Linked DNA regions of Homo sapiens: region 2 is linked to region 1. The links are contacts of gene promoters, found by promoter capture Hi-C in human tissues and cell types (Jung and others, 2019). All regions are on one chromosome and are shown on one strand. Each heading gives the region's core, a stretch centred on a gene start or on the middle of the fragment in contact. The rest is flanking DNA. Distances are from core to core; before and after follow the strand shown. Region 1 holds the start of SYT10 (synaptotagmin 10). Region 2 has its middle 12 kb from the start of ALG10.

Region 1 (6,580 bases), core at 51-2,550:
AACTAATGAATGCTTCCCTACTGGAGTGCTATGCCTAATATTTATACTAGGTTTACCATAGTCCTGTGCAAAGCAAATAATTTACCATGAACTGATTAGCTGTTTTTAAAAAAGACTACTTATTCTACTAGCATAGACACGCTAACAAGTTCAATGTATCCCACTTCAAAAATAAAGAATCCCTCATCACAAGAGGGTTAAATCAATCCTCAGGTTATGATATGGGATCAAACTCTGCCCGAAAACAGTTTAAAAACCATATAAACATATTATATCCTGAAGCCCATGTTTATTATTTTGTCGCTTTAGTTCTACTGATTTGCACCCATTTGCATTAAAGAATTATAAAAACAGGTGAGCTTAAGACATCCGAGTCCAAATCTCCCATTTTACAGACTCAGGCAAAGACCCGAAAGCAGGCCGGCCGTGGTGGCTAGTGCCAGCATTTTGGGAAGCTAAGGCGGTAGGATTGATTGAGCCCAGGAGTTCGAGACCAGCCAGGGCACCATAGTGAGATCCTTGTCTTTACAATAAGTTTAAAAAAAAAAAATAGCGCCTGGAGTCCCTGGAGTCCTAGCTACTAGGGAGGCTGAAGTAGGAGGATCGCCAAGACCTGAAAACAACTTCAAGGTTAGGCTGAGATGTGTGACAGATTTGAACTTAATCCTGTTCCCTTTAACACCCATGTCTTGTTTTAAGTCGCTAAGAAAGGAGATGGAGGGAGTCAAGTTGTGCATTCTCAATCGCCAATTACGGATTAATCGACAGAATCTTATCTGATTATTAGTACAAATAACATTTTATTTTGTGATCTACCTAAGAGGGTTTGCTTATTCACGCATTCTTTTTTCTAATTAACTTTTTCAGTTTTTCTTCGATTGGGATGACTTTTCCAGAAGGGCAGAAGCAGATAGCACAGAAAGTAGAATACATCCGTGGAAAAGTTGGAGAGACAAAGGCGGCGGGGATGGCTGCACTGATGCAGGGAAAAGTATTGGGAAAACGGAGAGGGCTCCTCGGGCCAACTCTGGGCAACGATGAGCATCCCCGGCCTCGGCAGGGGCGCCGGGCCGCCCGCCCTCCCTCCCTCCCTCCCTCGCGAGTCCCTTCTTCAGAGGACGCGGGGAGCCGGGTCTGCGCGCTCCGCCGCCTGTCACCTAGCGCCCGCGCCGGGCTGCGATTGGACGCGTCGCCGCCAGGCACCCGCCAGAAACACCAGTGCGCTGGGGAGAGGAGGGGGGCGTGCTTGCGAGTCGAGGGCTTGCTTTGGCTTTTTTACGGCTCCCCCCTCCCCTCAGCACTCCATGCCGGGTCTCTAGTTCCAGCGCGCCTCGGCTCGCTCGCGCGGCGGGAGAGTTGGCGCAAACCTCGCGGCAGCCGCAGCCTCCTCGCGCGCCTCTCCTTCCCCTACGCCCTCCGCTCCCGCCATGGGGCCAACGTGGGGCTCCTAAGAGTTGCCGGCTCTCAGCGGCGCAATCTCCAGCCAAAGTCACCGCGGGCGGACTATGGCTTAGGGCGCCAGAGGGGTTAGAGGTACGGGAAGAGGAAAAGACGGCTAACTGGGAAAAAAAGAGAAAACGAAAGAAAAGCCAAACGATGAGTTTCCACAAGGAGGACGGAGTGAACAGTCTGTGCCAGAAGGCTCTGCACATCGTCACCGAGCTGTGCTTCGCCGGCCAGGTGGAGTGGGAGAAGTGCTCGGGCATCTTCCCTCGGGACAGGGGCAGCCAGGGCGGAAGCAGCACAGGTAACCGGGAGGGCTCCGCTCGCGTCCTCGCGCTCCGCTGGGACCCCGCGCGCTAGGCTGCAAGCTCCGGGGTTCTGCGCCTCCCGCGCCGCTCCCGCGGCATATTTGGGGCGCCACGCTTTCCTACCTCGCTCCTTCCTTCGCTCAGCTCCTGACGACTTCGAGGGTGGGGCGTTTGGGTTTTGTTTCCTCCTGTCCACCTGCCGGGCTTCTCCCATTCTCTGGTCCGCTTCCCGCCTCCCGGCGCCGTCTCCCGCTCCCAGCCTCGCCGCGCCTCTCCGCGTTCTCCCACGCCTCCCATCTCCCTCCCGGAGTGGAGAAGTGAGTGCGGGCGGTGACGGCGCCGGGACGGCTCGCGGCTTGGCTGCTTGTGGGGGCGGCTCACCTGTGGGACTAGGGCTGCTCTCGCTCGTTCCACCGGCCGCTGGTCCCGGCCTTGTTGATGGGGGCCAGGCGGGACGGACAAGCCATGCTTGGACGCAGAACTCCCTTGCAGAGGTGGCTGCCTTGGCCTCCGAGGTAACCCGCGGCTGCAACCTGTCGGGCACCTGACAATTTCTAAAGCCCTTTTAATATATATGATTTTCTAGGGTTTCATGACAAAGTTGGTAAAACAAGGATTATTGATCCCATTTGTGAGGCGACACCTAAAGCTCAGAGCACATATCGAAGAAGTGGAAGAGAGGGGAGACGTTTAAAATCCCTAGCACACGCACGCTCTCAGACATCCAACTCACAGACGTCCTCCCTACCCTTCAGGAAACTAGGAAATGGGCTGGATGCAGGAGGATATCGACCGTCGGAAATCTGGAGATGGAAAAAAGTCTCAAGTGGATTTTCCTCAAGGCTTGGGGGTGGAAAGGATCGAATCCAAGCCACTGTTTGGGTCACGGTTGGGGAAAAGGTTGGTGTGTCCAGCCTGCTGTGCTCCTCGGGCGCACGCGAGGTGGATCCCCGAGTTGCGGGCTGCGTGGTTTCAAGAGCCGCTTGAGAGGGTCACTTGTTGCACTAGGAGTCAAAAAACACTGCTTTGGGGATTTTCGACTGGAAGGTTGCCATTCCTTCTCTAGGTTCTTTCCCTTTGCTTTTCCTGTCATTTTGATCTCCTGGCGGGATTTTAAGAGTTGAAGGTAGTCAGGGCAACAAGAGCTGGACAGCCAAGCTCAGGACAACATGGAGCCCTGCGTGCTGGGAGGGAGCAAAGCGGGGCACACTTAGTGAATCCTCTCCACCACCACCCCTGCGTCAAAGCCAAGCGGGGAGTGGGAATGGGTTTAGTTTAGCTTTTACATTCCATCGTTCACATGGGTAGCTGCAGGGTTTGGTATTCTCTGATCCACGGCAACGTGAGCCAAGGGGGCTCTGTCTGCACTTGGCAGAGCTTGAAGATATGCCGCTGCTTGGACCCTGGATAGGGAAACTTTAAAATTTTCTCAGTGTATAAACACAACTGAGAATCATTTCCATTCGTTCAGTAGGTGTTAAATTCCTAGGAGTGTATGAAACTCAGTGGAAGGCACTGTGTGAGCATGTTGTATTCTGTGTCGTGCGTATCGTTGCTAAGTATGAGGTAAAGACCAGAATAGTGTGACCTCAGAGTCCTCTGTGGTGATATTAGATAAGCTTTTCTGAAACGTCTTTAGTGACCCACTTGCTAAAGGTAACACTCAGAGAAGGGGCTACACTGGACGAAATGAGAGTATTTAAGTTTGAAGATTGTGCTTTGGTAATTGAACAGTTGATGCTGTAAATAAAACTACTGATTTTCCTCTTTCCTGCCCTTTTGTGATCACACACCAAATAGTGGTTTCCCGGGTCTCAGACTGGCTGGTAATGAGGAAAATATGTGGAAGTTAGAAACCAAATCCCAGCTCTGAAATCTGTCCAAAATGCACAACTGTATCAGCTTCAGATAAACTATAGTATATGAATTATAGAAATAGTTCTCAGTTTTTCCTAATCACTGCAAGAAGTAGTTGTAGTCTGAATTCCTTTTGAACTTTTCCCCTTGGGAATAAAAAGTGAGAAAAATTAGTCTAAAACAATTGCAAGAATATTTTCCTCCCCTTAAGAGGCAAAATAGACTACATAATATATACAAGTGGGGTATTCGATTTATAATATAGGAACACACATATTTATTGGCTATTACTAGGAAAGATATTCTACTAAGTTGTGTATGACATATAAAGACAAGATTGCTATACGTTTTTCATTTGCGAATCCAAGCAACAGTTAGAAGTAAAATACTTTAATCTGCAAATAGACACTCAAAGTTAATAGATATCTATGAAGTGGATTTAAAGATTGTTTGCCAAATATTTAATTATATTTCTTAGCCACCCAGCGTCACACTGTTCTTTAAAGTAGATTTTCTTATAACTTGTGCTCTCATGCTTGTTATTATAGGTTCCTAAATAAAGCACTTCCAGTGATCCTTCTACTCATCGTTTAATGAGAAGGCCATTTTTGGTAGGAAGACATCAACAATGTTGAATGGCACAGTGCTTATTTACTTTGAAAGTTAATCAGCACTGCCCAGATGGTATTGGTTGTTCTAACATTACAGTGATAATTACAAGCTCCAAAATTGTGTATATTTTTAATTCCTTCACATAGAGATAGTGGGAGAGAAATTCAGGTAATTCCAGTTAAAATCATTCTACATGAAGGGAGCTACAAATCATGTATATATGTAAGATATTATCTTACGGGTTTTGCAAATGCCAGTGAAGTGCAAGTATCACCATTATTTTTACCATATCAGCAGTAGCAGAAGCAGCAGCAGTATTGTTGCCATTGAGGATCTCACAGTCACAATATGATCACAACATGACTGATCTCATACTTTAATAAAATTGGTGAAGACTTACACTAAAGTTGCCAACACAAGTTCATTTACTCTTTTGGCGTAGTTTATCGGAGTCATTATATGTGCCAGCATTACTAATATTCTAGAAAGTTCACCACGTGCACTTTTTAGAATATCAGATATTTTGAGTCTTTTTACCATGGATTCTCTCTTTCTCCCGAAATAGATATGTCACCCACTAAATTAATCTCAATGCACAATATGATTTAATATTAGAATGCTTAGGGAAAATACAAAGCAACATATTGGACCCAAAAGTTATTTTTCAGGCATACTGTGACTGAATATATATAATCGTTTTTAAACTGGATTTAGCTTAATTTCTGATTACTCCTTAATTGCTGCTCAAATGCTCATCAATTTCAAGGAACCTATGTTGCTTAAAAGGCAGACGTCATAAATCACAGCTAATCAATCCCACTTAAGCTCACAGTCACTTGAGCTCACATCACAATTGTATAGCTCTAAGCTTAATTTAAAGATTTTCATAAGCATTTCATTCATCAATGTTCTAATTTTGCATGTTTACACAATTTTAATTTGGGACTAAAAATTCTAAAATAAAAATTTAGACAAATTCTTCTAAATTCATACATATGTTCTTCAGTTTCTTAGAGGTAGGGATAAAAGTAGGTATATGGGAAATAATTTTATTAAAGTACTTAACTGACAAGAAAAGGGATAGTTAAGTAAAATTATAAGAATTACATCATAATTTCCCTCTAAGATCAAGGCATAGTGGGTCTATGATAAAGGTTTAAAATTAGTAGAGGGACTTCATAGTAGAGGGACAAAGCAAATGACTACCCAATTAATTGAGTTATCATTTTTTAATCACCATAACAGGGTTTTACACATCCTAGTGATTGTATAAAGAATTCCAATTCACAAACATATTATCAGTAGAATTTTTTCCTTGAGACTTGTAGGTCTATAAAAGAATAATGGAGCCACAGTGAATTCAGAATGATAGGCCTGTTTGAAGAAGAATATATAAGAGGATATTTTTCCTTCCTCCACATTGTCACTCCACTGAAGAGTGGCCAACTTCTACTATGTCTAGTCTCATTGTCACATGATCATCAATACACCTTGTGCTTGGTCTGATTTACTTCAAATGCAAATGGAGACCTATCTTCAAAGCCAAGAAGATCTCAGCAAACATTTATTCTTCTTAAATCCCAGTATGTTAGCAGTATTGGCAGGAATTTCTTTTTGCTTTAACCTTTTCTTTTTCCTTTGTGACAAATTAAAAGCTGTATTTCCTTTTTCTATGAACTGTGAGTCTCTGACATCTAATTCTTATGAATGATTTTGTATACCAAGCTCAAATCACATTTTTAAAAAAACAGTCATTACTGTAATACTGGCTTTTTGAAAAAATTGGTAATTGTTTGAGATGCATCTGCATTCATTTACAAGCTTTTTTAAATACAAAATTCTGGCAGAAGACAATCATTACCATAAATGTTTAATGTAATTTCCAATGCCAATGAAAATCATTTCTATTTTGAACATGTGATTATATTCTTCCCAATCTACATTTTATTCCACTAACGTTGTACACATTAAGTCAATAGCATGTCAGCTCTTTGAGGTCAGGGGCTTGTTTATTGTTTTATCTTCAGTGCCTTGAAAAATCTGTGGTTCATACTAGCTACTTTATTTATTTACTATTTTTATTTTATTTTTTTGAGATGGAGGTTCACTGTTGTTGCCCAGGCTGGAGTGCAATGGCGGGATCTCAGCTCATCACAACCTCCGCCTCCCAAGTTCAAGCGATTCTCCTGCCTCAGCCTCCCAAGTAGCTGGGATTACAGGCATGTGCCACCACGCCCAGCTAATTTTGTATTTTTAGTAGAGTCGGGGGTTTTCTCCATGTTGGCCGGGCTGGTCTCCAACTCCCGACCTCAGGTGATCCGCCCACTTCTGCATCCCAAAGTGCTGAGATTACAGGCGTG
Region 2 (6,585 bases), core at 42-2,541, 570 kb before region 1:
AACATTATTTGCCACGTAGACACTTGATTGCAAGTAACATACTCGGTGCTTAACACAGTATCAAACATTCAGTAGTCCTTAATAACTACTGAATTATTCATTACTCATTGATGACACTTGAATAAATAAAAGAACTGAAAGCTATCCTAGGATATAATGTCACCTAAGTTTGGGAAGAAGAAAAGTAGTTAAAATCATTGAGGGCTACTTGAGGAGATGGGAATAGATTGGGTCTTAGGAAACTAGGAACATCGTGAAGCCATTAGCACAACTCTGTGCATTGTCGTTTGCCTAAGAATCTGTAATTAATTTAGTCTAGAAAACAGTTTGGTGGAGCTTGAGTAATGAGTCTTTTGTTTGGCATGCTCCTAGTAAATATTTAATAAAAATCTGTTGATCATAATGCCATTTAAAATAACATTTCATAAAAAATATATCCTGACTTATTAAAATAAAGAAATAAATCAGAACCTAGGGATACTTCATCAAAGATTATAACATTTCTTTGATTAGCAAGTGAGTAATGTAAAAATTCCATGTTATTAAATCAAAGTCACAGCAACACAAATTTACTTGGTTCATTTATTTAAAGAATACATTTTAGCTTTATTTATCATGGTTCTAAGTATGCTTACAAATGTATTGCCTTATTTGGAAAATTTAATTAAATCTCTGCTTTGGGATATCAGTATTATTAATGTGTAAGGATAAATCTGAAACAGACTCGTGAAAATGACAGCATTAATAGCATAGGTATTAATACCTGTTTTTCTCTTTTAGCAACTTCAATTCACCATGTATTTGAATTAATACAGAAGTTTATATCCAGAAGAGTTAAAGTTGTTATAAAATCAGTCTCCTTGGAACTGCTACCATTTATCTTTTTCAATATTGCAGGCAGGTACTATTTCAATTATTTGACACATGGAATTTTGGAAGAATAGTAAACTGTAGCACATCTTTTATTTGTGTCTTAGAAAATTTTTCTGGATTCTACAATTGTTCCAAGGTCTAAGAACTTGTCAGTCCAAACTGTACCAATTACTATTAATGTAAGAAGACTCTGTGACTACATTTTGGTCCTTTATATGATCTCCTGAATTTTATATTGACCTGCTGGTGAAGAATATTCTGATACATTGCAATATTGACTTACTAATAAATTACTACAAATATAAAAGAGAGACCAAACTTTGTTCACTTTATTGCTATAGGAAGTCAATTTATAGCATTTCATTAAAGAAAAAAACTCCATGTGAATCTTTGTTATTGACACATAGTCATTCAATAAAATAGGTGATTCATATATTAACTATAGAAGATTTAAACATTTAAAATTTAAAAATTTGTCTGACAAATTTCTGAGAAAGTTGATATACCTGAAAAAATACTCATAAACCAGATGCTTTATCCCTAGTATTAGAGAAAGCTTCACAAAGATGCTCAGGTTGAAAATTTAAAATAATATAATTTAGTTAGATGTCAGAAAAAAGGAGATGTGGGTAGGATGAGGGAGCATTCCATTTAGAGATATCAGCACAAGAAAAAGTAAAGAGGTATGAAAATGTGAAAGATTTGAAGAAGTGCATTGAAATTTATTTTCAGAAGAAAATTTAAAAATAGAGAAATAGACAATTTTAAAATCATAGTTTATTTAAATCCCCATAGCAGTCAGTCATCTGTTCTAAATATATCACTTTGTTCAAGGACATCAATATTACTGCAGGTTCCAAGATGAGTGAAAAACATACTAACTCTTTAAGAGTCACTGTTTTTCAAGAATATTTATCTATTGCATATTTTATGGTCCACAGTCATGCCCGTTAATCCCCTCTTTCAAAGTAATTCACATTTAGCTAGGTAGCCAAAATGAATGTGGTTAGGTGAAATATTTTTATACGATCTTTTACAAGTACTTGTAGCCTGAATTAGAAAAACTGAATCTTTCCAAAGATGAGGACTGAGACTACTTCTAAATCCACACTTTATTCTGGTTTTGAAAATAAAACTGTGCTAATGGAAAGCATTGTTTTCCAGCATGAATTTAATTATTGTGGTCTATATTTCCTGATGAAGAGAGTAGGTTCCTGGCAAAATTATGTTATATTTGCATTTTGATAGCATACAGTTTTAGGCTGTTCCCTTCAAATTCAGAGAAATACAAATACATTATATTAGAGTATTCTCAAGAGAAATATAAGTATTCCATTATATTTTACCAGGCACATTCATGGGACTTCCAATACAATCTATAATTTTTGTAAATCAAACAGCCAAGTAATGAAATATGTTATTTTCCAGAAAGTAGGATACATACATCTCTTTCATCACTGATAAGCTTATTTCATTTCTCTAGCATGTAAATCATTAATCTCTTAGAGTTGTGTTTATTACAAGAGGATTTTTTAATACCAACATGTGAAGCTTATATAAGATGAAGATAAAATATTTAGATTTTTATCAATATAGTCTCAAGAGTAAAAGCTTTAATAAACAAACATGGATTTACAAAGCAAACAGCATGGGGATAATTTTTCAAATTACATAATGTTTTCATTGTTTGAAAACAAAACAAGAACTACAACACCAAAAAGAGTAAGGGCTCCTTTCCACAGCAAATGCCCTAGTTTAATAAAAGAAAGATTTGATTGTTAAAATTAGAATTTGTATATAAATTTGCAGAAACATATTTATTCTCTACAGTGAAGTTAGTAGATATGTAAAGACATTAATTAGTACCAATAACAACATGTATATTGTACCTTTGATGTTGTCTTAGTTTCCATAAAATCTGTTATTTTGACAGTGTTCATTTAGCATGAATAATAAATCAAAATATTTTAACCTAATAATTGATGGTCATTATTCATAGAACAACAATAATTAAAATTTGATTTGTTTATTTATGATAAACATGGTAGAATAATTAGCTATGTGAAAAGCATTTATTTTAAATAGGTTCATGTGTCTTTTGATAAACAAAAGATCTACACATTTTATCTCTGTCCCTAGTACATTTATTCCATCACAGAACTTCTTAGTTTGAAAACATAATTTATATACACAGTTTGCCTTTTAAACTGGAATTTCAATCTTTCAACAAGTGTTTATTAAGCACTAAGCACTAGGGAAAAAAGCAGTTAATACAATAGGAATAACTCCTTTTCTCATGGACAACCATCTACTACAGTGTTTCCTAAGCAGCAGTATTTTTAGATGTTGTCTAAAGGTACATAATTCTCTATAAAAATTTTAAAACACAACTTTCCACGATAATTAAAATGTATTTTATGCTGTCTAATATGATCATCACAGCCACATGCAACTAGGGTAGTTGAACAGAGACTTTAATTAACTAATTAATTAATTAATTTTTTTGAGACAGAGTCTCTCTCTGTTGCCCAGGCTGGAGTGCAATGGCTCCATCTCGGCTCACTGCAACTTCTGCCTTCTGGGTTCAAGCAATTCTTTTTCTCTGCTTCTCGAGTAGCTGGGTCTACAGGCCTGTGCCACCATGCCTGGCTAATTTTTGTATTTTTAGTAGAGAGGGGTTTCACCATATTGGCCAGGCTGGTAATTTAATTAAATATTAACTTAAATATTAATTTTTTATATTAACTTCTCTTTAATGATTAGTGGTTATTGTACTAGAAAATGCAGTGCTAGATGTTCTTAGAGTTGATACTGCAATGCGAACTAGGCACTTGTGTTTGATTTTATGTTTATACCCAGGCTTGCGATGTTTGGAGGCCCAATGATAACATGGCTGACCATCCTACTGATAAATGTTTCCCAATGCATAATTTGAATAGTGAAAGATGGTGAGAGCTTTTGGGTATCATAAAACTATAGCAAATATGGACACTGGCCTGGTACAGTGGCTCACATCTGTAAATCCAGCACTCTGGGAGGCCGAGGTGGGCAGCTCGCTTGAGCTCAGGATTTTGAGACCAGCCTGGACAACATGGCAAAACCCCATATTTACCAAAAATACAAAAAATTACCCGGACATGGTGGTGCACCTAGCTACTTGGGAGGCTGATGTGAGGAAGGCTTGAGCCCAGGAGGTGGAGGTTGCAGTGAGCCGAGATCACACCACTGCAGTCCAGCCTGGGTGACAGAGTAAGACCTCATCTCATCTCAAAACACACACACACACACACACACACACACACACACACACACATATAGTAAATAAGAATGTCTAACTGGAAAAGTCCAATGGCATAGTAGCAAGTATGCAATTTAGGTTACAAGCATTGCTTAAGTCTATTAATTTGCCTTGTAAATTTGCTTCATATATTTGTTTAAGAATTATAAACAAAAGCTAACTCAGTTTTATGCTGTACTTATTTAAATAAAAAATAATTTAAATATTTTATCAATGCTGAAGAGAACTTTTTTTCTTGAAAAGGGTCATTAGTCACTGAAATTTGAGAAATATTAGTCTAGCAAATAAGATGTAGTCACTGTGTTGGCATTATTCAACTAGCTTTGTGGCCTATTTGACTCTCACAACCACTCTGTGAGGCAGTTATAACCAAGATCACCAATTTATAGCTTTGGAAAGAGGTTACTACTTCAGCAATCTGCTTAAAGTCCTATAGAACAAACAGTGATTCAGGGTTTAAATTCACATCCTTTTTATTCCAGAATAGTATATGCAGTATGCTAAGAAGAATAATGGCTCCCCAAGGGTGTCTACCTCCTAATCCCTACAAATGGTGAATGTGTTACCTTAAGTGGCAGAAGATACTTTGCAGATATGGTTAGGTTAAGCATCATGAGCCTGTTCAGTAGGTCCAACATAATTACAAAGGGTCTTAGAAAATGGAGGAAGGAAGCTCAGAATGAGAGAAGGAGACATGATGATGGAAGCAGAGGTCAGAGTGATTTGAGAAAGGGACCACAGGCCAAGGAAGGCAGGAGGCCTCTAAGGAACTAGGAAGGTTAAGGAAATGGATTCTGCTCTAAAGCCTCCAGAAGGAATACAATACTGCTGACACCTTGAAGACATCCTTACAAGGTAGTTTAGGGTCCATTTCATACCCCTTTGTGAGGAGGGACTTGGGGGAGAGTGTAGGGAGGGATGTTGTGCTTCATTAAAAACCCCTTTCTTCCAGCATACATCGCAATAAAGGAGCTTTCAATTCAGTAACATGTAGGACACTCTCAAGAGGATTTCTGATAAATACATTCTTCTCCCTCATTTAATTTCCAGTGATGTTTTATGGGCAATTAGTTACAGATTGGATACATACACTTTAAAGTGTTTAGTTTATTGATCCCATAATCTGGCTCAAAAACAACTTAGGTTTTTATTAGAAAACAGACGAAAAAAATGAAATAGACACATTTGGTCCTGAAAAGAGGCTGGAGAATCTAGGATGTTGTATAGAGACACGCGCTCAGAATTATCCACCAACAATATTGTCACCCTCCTATGCCAACACTGAAAATGGTTGCCATTTTTCAGAAATGAATCATCTCTACTTTGCAAAATAATACAAAATCCCAGAGTGGAAAGTGAAAGAAGATAAAGGTAAGGGGTTAATTACTATATTTTAAAAATAACGCTTTGTAAGACAAAATTGCTTATTTATGTTTTATTGAGGGCCAGGAGGGCATCTTCATCATATCACATAGAATTAGTTCTGCAAATAGTGTAATTACTATGCTTGTCTCATTATGCTGCTATTTTCTGGTTTTCTAGGATAAGGAGAGAAAATTATTGGCTGCCTTTTCACAGATTCCTGGTTTTATTTTCTCTCTAGGGTATAATTTGTAAGAATAGAAAATAAATCTGTTACACATTGTAAAAAATATAGAATCATAAACTAGTTTTACTTAAGTTGAATATATTCATATATACCAATAAGAGAAACAATACTATTAATTGTATTTATGAAAGACCCAAATTTACAAAGCCGAAGAGTATGAGTTTTTTATCTTTACATAAAACCTACAAAGATTTGTAAAGCAACTATAGATTACCATTTTACAGCTGAAAAATTCTGAGTCTAGAAAGATCAACATGCTTAAAGTCATGCAGATGGTAAAGTAGTTGAATCTAGAACTTGAACCCAATACTTGGCATTTTCTTTTGGTTTTGGGTTGCTTTTTTGATTCATTGGTGAATGATTTGGTAAATGAGATAGGTGCTCCTAACACCTAGGAAGTTAGAATTGTCCATTGGAATAAACAGCTGATTTCATTATAGAAACTTGGATAAGGTATTAGGAAAGGTTAAGAAAGGAAGCCACCATTTATTGTGCTGGAACTTAGAGGCCATAGATGTAAAAATTTAAACGTTAGTGAAACAATCAGTTCATTACCTAGACTATCTCCATAATTACAACCTTCTTTATATTTGAGTACTCTTACGTAAATTGTAACTGGCTATTCAATTTTATATTATGGTGATGGGTATATTGTCTAGGTAATGTTTGGTGATAGGTGCTAGGCACTTCTATATTATCTGATTGAATCCTCATAGCAACACTGAGGTACATATTATTTTACCACTAAAATCTGAGACTCACAGGTTGAATGCCCTTCCTGAAGTTATACAGCTAGAGAGTGGCA

The links. Contacts are between HindIII fragments. The study calls those that stand out against the background at their distance.
Region 2: a contact is called between a fragment that was not itself captured here and the fragment with the promoter of SYT10 in region 1, in 1 of the 25 tissues and cell types used here (dorsolateral prefrontal cortex).

What each region holds. Positions count from the first base shown.
Region 1 is chr12:33,434,539-33,441,118 of GRCh38, reverse strand. It overlaps SYT10 (synaptotagmin 10), which reads left to right and starts at 1,300. Exons shown (of 7, transcript NM_198992.4): 1 at 1,300-1,747. The coding sequence starts at 1,597. RefSeq lists an enhancer at 1,573-2,389. The HindIII fragment of the contact is 9,708 bases long and covers 1-4,229 here.
Region 2 is chr12:34,006,969-34,013,553 of GRCh38, reverse strand. No RefSeq gene overlaps it. Among named protein-coding and RNA genes, the nearest start is that of ALG10, 12 kb to the left of the region's middle. The HindIII fragment of the contact is 6,865 bases long and covers 1-4,723 here.